3 separate regions of the Homo sapiens genome follow, and regions 1 and 2 are each linked to region 3. The links are contacts of gene promoters, found by promoter capture Hi-C in human tissues and cell types (Jung and others, 2019). All regions are on one chromosome and are shown on one strand. The core of a region is centred on a gene start or on the middle of the fragment in contact, and the rest is flanking DNA. Distances in the headings are between cores, read along the strand shown.

What was found. The method cuts DNA at HindIII sites, captures the fragments that hold promoters and counts their contacts. A contact is called where the count stands out against the background at its distance.
Region 1: a contact is called between the fragment with the promoter of KRT83 here and the fragment with the promoter of KRT74 in region 3, in 2 of the 25 tissues and cell types used here (H1 embryonic stem cells and bladder).
Region 2: a contact is called between a fragment that was not itself captured here and the fragment with the promoter of KRT74 in region 3, in 5 of the 25 tissues and cell types used here (bladder, dorsolateral prefrontal cortex, heart right ventricle and 2 more).

The regions. Positions count from the first base shown.
Region 1 is chr12:52,320,050-52,322,749 of GRCh38, forward strand. KRT83 (keratin 83) reads right to left here and starts at 1,349. Exons shown (of 9, transcript NM_002282.3): 1 at 903-1,349. The coding sequence starts at 1,286. The HindIII fragment of the contact is 13,306 bases long and covers 1-2,700 here.
Region 2 is chr12:52,426,373-52,429,405 of GRCh38, forward strand. KRT75 (keratin 75) reads right to left here. Exons shown (of 9, transcript NM_004693.3): 6 at 2,246-2,371; 7 at 1,884-2,104; 8 at 445-479. Among named protein-coding and RNA genes, the nearest start is that of KRT75, 6.5 kb to the right of the region's middle. The HindIII fragment of the contact is 7,225 bases long and covers 1-3,033 here.
Region 3 is chr12:52,572,507-52,575,235 of GRCh38, forward strand. KRT74 (keratin 74) reads right to left here and starts at 1,337. Exons shown (of 9, transcript NM_175053.4): 1 at 801-1,337; 2 at 1-161. The coding sequence starts at 1,271. The HindIII fragment of the contact is 9,071 bases long and covers 1-2,729 here.

The DNA of each region.
Region 1 (2,700 bases), core at 99-2,598, 250 kb before region 3:
AGCGATGAGGTTGGCCCACTACTCCACTCAGCTTCTTTTGTCTAATAACTTGGCCACACCCTTGGTAGGTCCTATCTTATGCTATCCTTGGTCTCTCATGCTATTAGAAATTCCACATTTTTTTTTCCCGATCCTTTCTGGTGGGCATCTCTCTAGTGTGACTCCTCTCTTGAGGTTTTGGCTCTGGAGGGCTCTTTCCAACCCCAGAACATGTTCCTAGTCAGAGCCTTTTCTCCCAGTCTCTCACATCACTGCCACATGGTGGTTGCCTGGATTCAGTGGAGAAGGTGGCTGCAAACTCTAGTTGGACACTGACTACACAGATGGTTTCAACCAAACCCAGACTGTGCACTGCCTGCCTCCCCATAAAGCCTGTGAGGATGGGGACCATGACTCTTGCTCACCCCTGGATCCTGAGCCCCAGGAACAGTGGCTTGGACAAAATACTCTAGACCCTGCTCAGTGGCCAAATCACTGTGTGGTATAGAAAGAGTTCTGTGCCATCCACGAGACCCACTTCCAGACAGTTTTCCAGCACCACACTTATTAGCCCTGCCTTGATGGAGACAGCATCTCCTTGGCATTTAAGCAGTTATTTGGCTTCAAATGCCCTGAGCGCCCACACAGTGGTCCTTTGCTCACTAGGTGATATTATCACTCAGTGTGGAAGGCTCTGCCCCTCGTTCTGCTTTTGTGTTTTCAGTTAATCTCCCCCATCAGTCTGGTAGCTCCCGGTCCCATTTTTGTCTTTCTGTCTGTGTCCTAGAAGTATGACTACCTTTCCCTTTGGCCTGGGAACTTCTGTGGGCAAGTTCTTGCCTTTGACTTCCCTGTCAGTGCCCAGCCTGAGTTCTGAACATGAGTAGGGGTTCAGGAAGGGTGTGATCCAGGACGACACCCACCTTGTCGATGAAGGCCGCGAATCTGCTGTTGAGGGACTTGATCTGCTCCTTCTCCTCCTGCTTCACGCACTGCGCGTTGGGGTCTATCTCCAGGTTGAGGGGCGTGAGGAGGCTCTCGTTGACCGACACGGTGGTGATGCATGGGGGGCTGGGTCCGCACACGCCCCCGGAGCGGTAGCCGAAGCTGCGTCCGCAGGAGCCGGCGCGGAAGCCCCCGCACACGCTGTGGCTGCCAAAGCCCCCGGTGAGGCCGCGGTAGCAGGAGATGCCGCGGTAGGGGGCGGCGGTGATGCAGCAGCGGCTTGGCCGGGGCCCGCAGGCAGAGACACAGCTGAAGTTTCCAGGGCGGAACCCACAGCCTATGGAGTTGAAGCCACAGGTCATGACGGAGGTTAGGAGGTGTCTGAACAGTGGAGTAGATGGCAGAGGATGGAACCAAGGGCCTGTGCTCCCTGGCTGATGGCAGGCCCTTTTATGTGCCAGGGGCAGCTGGTGTTAAAAGAGGGAGCAAAGAGACAATAGCTGAATTTTATTGGCTTGGCATCACCCTGGCCTCTTAAGCTAGAACCCTGCTTGCCTCTTCAGTGTGGCTGCATCAACAATCCCTGGCCACGGGCCCTGTTTCATCTTCAAAGCCCTTTATAAGCTTCCTCCTTGCTCCTGCCCCTCCCACTGGCACTGCTGTGGAGCGGGGAGAGGGGTTCCTGAAAGCATTAGTTGCATTCTGCGGTCCAAGCGAGGGGAATGGGTGCAGTGACCTGGGGTAAAGCCTGCTCTCTGAACCCTGTTCTGAAAGGGGCAGAGCTAGGCTATGGGCCCTGGACCCATGGCCAAGCCCTGGGGTGGAGTGGCTGGCCTGTCCCAAGGAGGGGGCTGCCTCTGAGACAACCTCTTGCTGTAGGCTTTCCTGTCTTTTTCTCAAAGGCGGGTTCCTTTCCTCATTGTCAAGATTGGCCGCTCCTATCCTATTCCTGCTCAGAGCCTGGTCAAGGATGGGAGTGGGGGTAGAGATTTGGGGTGGGAGGAGGGCATGTTCTTTGCACTTTGGGTATTCCTAGTGCAGGGACACCATCTGGGACATGGAAGAAACTGATTCAGAGAGTTCAGGACAGTGCCAGGGCTATGCTTCAGAGTTCCAGGTGTCATTGCTGATGGGATCAGGAGCGGGGAGTGTGGAATACCTCAGAGCTCCAGGGACTCATGGAGGAGAGTGGGGACCTGGGCTTGAGGAGGATTGGGGTGGGGTAGTACAGGATTGAGAGATGACCAGAAAAGAGTCTGGCTCTGATTTGCAGACTAGACTATGTGTATTCATTTATTCATTTATTCATTTATTCATTTATTCAGGAAATACTTATTTGGTGCCCACCAACTATGCACTAGCCACTGTGCTAGGTTCTGGAAATCCTACAGAGACCTGGGGTGTTTGGAGGTAGCATGCATGTGGGGGAGCCAACATTTGGCTAGGGGGAAAGATGAGAAGCCACAGATGGGGGGAAGGCCCTCACAATGTCCAGGCTGATTGGTGTTCTTTAGGTTCCCAGCAGGGAAGCTCAGTGATGGGGTCTTGGGGTGTATGTACTCACCAGGAAGGAGGGAAGGTGCGGGAGGTGAGGGACATCAGCAGGGTCCTTAAATGAGATCACTCTCTCACCTCAGAGAACACACTGGGTGAGAGAAGGGTGCTAGCTCATGTGGCTGTTCCTAAAGCCAAGCTCTCTTACTTTGGGCCCTTGTTCCTTTGGGTTAGGACAGGCAATGGCTTTGATGGATGGACAGTCGGACCGAGCCAGGAGGT
Region 2 (3,033 bases), core at 58-2,557, 150 kb before region 3:
GAAGCTGCCTAGTTGGCAATGCTCTTGTCCACAGCATGAAGGCTCCCTTCAAAGGTCCAAGCCAGACCAGGAATTTTCATAAATCCCGTCTACATCAAGTGCTCACCTCTGTGCTAGGCTTGCAGCCCCAACAAAAAGGCAGGGAATTCTGGGAGGTAGGAGATGTGGCCAGGATCTTTTAAACCCACTCAGAACAATGACATCAAACCTCTCATCACCCCTTCTGTGACACCCTCACTCTCAAAGAGGAAAGAACTGTGACATTAAAGACTCCTAATATGGCTTGCTTTTTAAGGGACCCAAAACCTCAAACCTTCTCCAAATGAACGCTGTCTGTGAGATCCCGTCTAACCCGTCATATCTTCACCCTCTGGCAAGCCCACCACATCCCCATCCCCTCTACCACACACACTCCAAATGGCCCAAGAAGTATGTCATACTCACAAATGTTAACTGGAGAAACTCCCTCTCCACTCAACCTGATTGGGAAGAGCAGGGAGAAGGAAGGTTACCAATGTGGCCAGCAGCTTAAGGGCCTTTGCAATGACACTTTTGTAATTGTTGACAAAGCATTTAAACATACTTTATTATTTTTATTGCAGAAGTAATGCAGGTTGAAATTATTTGAGAACTAGTAGTATTAAAGATAATATTAATAATCTAATGAATAAAATAAGGTGGAGTTTGAGGTTCACAGGAGCAAAATCTATAATCTCAGAAATACAATTTTTGGTTTAAACTAGTTAGATGCCTTAAGGAAATTAAAAGTAATCATATACTGGCATCAACTGGAAAGAAGGGCCTGTCCTATAATAAGATTTGTCTCTCAACAAGGGACCATTGTCATGCACTGAGCCAGGGCTGAGCTTATTGTATATAGGTGTGGAGAGGCGTCTGAGTCATAAAAATAACAATAGTAATATCAGTTTATTATTATCTTAGCAACCAAGTAACTTTGCTTTAGCATCTTCAGGACAGAACTGGCATTCATTCATAAACACATACTGAGAAACTTAACAAGAGGTAACAGCTGTTGATTACCTGTTACTTATATCACACCACTTAGTTCTCTCAACAACCCCATGAGGTAGGTATTATTTGCTCACTTTTATAGAGGGAGAAATGGAAGCTCAGACAAGTTAACTAACTTGCCCATAGTCGCAAAGCTGGACTTGAAGACAGATTCATCTGACACCAAAGCCTATGTCTTTGGCCATGAAACTGAATGATAGCTAACATTTATCGAACACGCTGTGTACCATGCATTGTTCTAAGAGCTTTGTGTGTATTCCCTTATTTTAACCCTTTTAATAATGTGAGAGTTTAGAACTATTGTTATTCACATTTTATTGGATGAGAACACTGAGAGGTGGAGAGGTTAAGTATCTGCTCTTGGCTACACAGCTCCTAACTGGCAGAGCACAAAGCTCCCATGAAGCTTTGCGGATCATGTAATCTGACCTTTTCATTTTATCATTGAAGAAATTGAGGGCCAGAGAAGGGAGACTGACTTTCCCAAGGTTATGTAGCTACTTAGTGTTAGATCTGTAAGCCCAAATCCTAGGACTGTTTGTTCTCAGCCCATGGCCTTTTAGACCACATTTCGAGAGCTGCCATGTAACCAAATGTCTCCTTTGGTAGAATTCAGTTACTTAGACCTGATCAGGTTTTAGGTTTCTATGGGGATGCTAACTGTAGTTGCACCTCAAATGATTTACTAGCCTGGAAGGAAATTAAAATTATTTTTTTGCCATAGCCCAATTCTGAACTGCATTTTCTTCCAGGAGAAGAAGGGGCTGCAACAGCCCGAGCCCCTAGGAATGCCCAGGAAGCTGAGGTGAGCTCAACTTGCTTTGAGGATGAAGTTGGTGCATCTGCCTCACCTGCACTCCTCGCCTTCCAGCAGCTTGCGGTAGGTGGCGATCTCCACGTCCAGGGCCAGCTTGATGTTCATCAGCTCCTGGTACTCACGCAGGAGCCGAGCCATGTCCTGCTTGGCCTTCTGCAGGGCCTCCTCAAGGTCCACCAGCTTGGCCCGTGCATCCTTGAGAGCCAGTTCTCCCCGCTGCTCTGCATCAGCAATGGCCGTTTGCAAGCTGGAACACTGTAAGGACAGGAGGAAGCCATGAGTCCTGCTGACAGCCCATGGAGGTGTGGTGCTTCTTGGGGAGGAGTTCTTAAAGATGGCAGAAAGGCCCAGAAGAAATGAGCATTTGAGGAGCTCTTGGCCCTGCCAAATCTTTACCTGCTTCTTGACGCTGTCAATCTCAGCTCTCAGCCTCTGGATCATGCGGTTCATTTCAGAGATCTCTTGTTTGGTGTTTCGAAGGTCATCCCCATGTCTGCCTGCGGTGACCTGCAGCTCCTCGTACTGAGAGAACCAGAGCAAACCCAGTCACTGAGTCAAATGCCTGGCCCAGGCACTCGCTGTGCACACAGACCCACCCTGGGTGCCACAAGCAGGCTCATTCATTCCTGGTCATTCACTCATTCCCCCTGAAGCTTACAGTTTATTGGGGGACATAGACATTAACTGAATTAGCATATTATCAAATGTATAGTTCCACACTAAGATAAGTGCCCTTAGGAAATGAACAGGGTCCTGGGAGAGTGTAATGAAGGAATCTGACCTAGATTTGGAAGTGGGAAGTGGTGGTCAGAGAAGTCTCTCCAGAGATGGAGATGCTTGAACTGTGGTCTGAAGGATGAGAAGGAGGGACCTAAGTGACCAGTTGTGGGGGAGAACATTCCAGACAAAGGAAACAGCCTGCATGAAGACTCTGGGTCAGGGAAGGAACATGGTGAGTTCTAGGAGTGAGACGGTGATTTGATCAAGGTCCCTGGGTAGTTCCTGGTCACAGAGCGTGCATCCAGACCAACTGTGCCCATGAATTTTGGTAGCCCTCCAAACACCAGTGCTGGGGAAACAGGGAGGAGATATGGGGGAATGGTGTGGGATGGTGCAGAGGCTGTGGAAGGCACAATTTTGAAGACTTTGTAAAAGTATTCCCAATCTCAGGTAGTTCTCAATCT
Region 3 (2,729 bases), core at 87-2,586:
CTCACCCTGTCCCCAGACAGTGTCTCCAGCTGCTTCCGCAGGTTGCTGATGTAGCCCTCAAGGATGGGCTCCAGGTTCTTCTTGCAGTTGTTCAGGTCCAGCTGCTGCAGCAGCTCCCACTTGGTTTCTAGAACCTGGTTCTGCTGCTCTAGGAAGCGTACCTGGAACCCAAATCAACAGACACCTGGAACCACAATGGGTGCAGTCATGCCCCCTGGACACACACCATTGACTCCCCAGGTTTGCCATAGATTGTTGTAGTCATTTTTGCTCATGTCTTGACTCTCCACCCTTGCCATTCCACACAAACTAGATCCTTTACAAGTGCTCATTTCCTAGCCTTCTGGACAAGGCATCACTGAGAACTCACTCAAGGAGTTTCCACAGCTTTCTTCTATTGCTCGGCCCTGGTCCCAGGAGATGTCCTTCCTTATGTCTCAACTAAGTGTCTCTTCCTGTACCATGAGCCCTTCCCTCTGAACACTGCTGGATTCTATTAGCCTTTCATGTTCTTGGAAGATCCAGCTGTCCTCAAGAAACTCATCACTTTTTTGTCAAGGAAGGGCTGCTCTTTACCCAGCTTCCCATCCTTCCCTGCAAAATCGCCAAAGAAGCCGATATATTCATGTATTCCTTTGTCCTCCGTGGCTCACAGACCTACTCTCCTTCCCTAATGGTGAGGAAGCCCTTCCTGAGGCCCAGCTGCACCTTTCCAGCCACAGTGTGCAGTCCATTCCCAGGCAGCAGGAAAACTGCTCAGGCCTCAGGGTGCGGCCTCATCCTCCTCCTATGAGACCCACCTTGTCAATGAAGGAGGCGAACTTGTCGTTCAGCACCTTGATCTGTTCCCGCTCCTGGGCGCGCACCTTCTGGATCTCAGGGTCCAGCTCCACGTTGAGGGGGGCCAAGAGGCTCTTGTTGACAGTGACCTGGTGGATGCCCCCAGGTGGGCACACAGACAAACATGCAGGCCCCAGGGCCACACTGCCAAACATACTGCCAGCAAAGCCACTGGCCCGGCCCCCTCCATACCCAGAGCCAGGCCTGAAGCCGTAACCTCCAGCCCGAACGCCGCCACCAGCCACATTGAAAGAAATACGCCGATTCCCTCCAAGGCTATAGAGGCTCCGACTGCCAAAGCCAGCGCCAGCCCCTCTGCCAGCTGCACAGTAAGAAGCCAGGCTACCCACAGCCTTCCTTGGCACCACTGCCGAATGCACACTGAAGTTGCCCTTGTCACCACTGGACTTGATGTTCAGTTGCCGACTCATGGTGGGAAAGGTTGAGTTGACAGAGCTGGAGAAAAGCAGTCTCCAAGGGGTAGAGAACACACTGATGGGGCACCCAGAGTGCTGCCTCCTTTTATCCCTGTTGAGCCCAGGACACCGGAAAAGGGCGTCTCTCCACTATCTCCTTTCCCCTGCTGATGGGCCAGGGGCCATGGGCAATTTGTAGAACAGAGATCTCCAAGCCCTTTGCAGCAACAAAGCTCTTCTGATAGCAAGTGGAATATGCTGCCCTTGCAGAGTGGAGTGGTCTAATTTGGAGTTTATCTGTGCTCCCTAATTAAGGACCTGAAGAGTTATCCCCTGAAGAGATCTCCTAGCTTTATTTTTCCAGTGCTACCTCCTTCTTGCTTAACCATCAGCAAGGAGCAGGGGAAATGCCTGGCTTTCCCCAGAGTAGACTCACCTGAAAAACCCCAGGTTTCTTCCCAAAAGAAACCATCTCTCTATTATAGGGTCTTGTGTGGAAGCTGGAATTTTTACCTCAGGGAAAAGAAGACATGGAAAGATGATTCTTCTTGGAAAGATGTCCTCAAAGATCTGGATCTGGGTAAGAAGCTCCAGGGTCCGTCCTTGGGCCATGCTAAGGACCACAGCTGTCTAGCAGTGAAGTGGACCCCAGGAAGGAAGAGGAATGACTCTGCAGCATCTGCATGCCCCCCTAGCAGGGATATTGTCTAGGGCCTTCTGTGTTGGGCAGGGCCTGGGTGGTGGTGACCTTGACATTGCCTTACAACCATGAGAACCTTTCCAGTCAGCTGCATTTCCTCCAGTTGGATTTTCTCTCCTGGATAAGATTATTTGTCCTACTCTAGGAAGTCAGGCAGGAGCTGGGATATTAGCCCCTGCACTCCCTGGGGAAACACCCTATGGCTGAAGTCACCAAGGAACAGGACCCCCTGAGTTTCACTCCCAGGTTCAGGGTGGGCTGTTCTGCCAGTTTCCTGGCAACTTCAGGGAGCACTCAATTTTCAAACAGGAAGTATCACTGCTTTATAGCTCAGGTAGTGTGGGTACAGTGCAATGTTAAAAAATTATTTCAGGGCTGGGCATGGTGGCTCACACCTGTAATCCCAGCACTTTGGGAGGCCAAGGAGGGCAGATTGCCTGAGGTCAGGAGTTTGAGTCCAGCCTGGCTAACATGGTGAAACCCCGCCTCTACTAAAAATACAAAAATCAGCCGAGCGCAGTGGTGCATGCCTGTAGTCGCAGCTACTCAAAAGACTGAAGTAGAAGAATCACTTGAACCTGGGAGGCAGAGGTTGCAGTGAGCCTAGATTGTGCCACTGCACTCCAGCCTGGGCAACAGAGCAAGACTCTGTCTCCAAAAAACAAAAAAAATTATTTCAAAGCTAGGTATCTGGCAGCTGCCCTCATGCAAGACTCTGACCACTTCCTATAACTAAACTGAGAACACTTGGCTTGTTTGGATCCAGCCGAGGG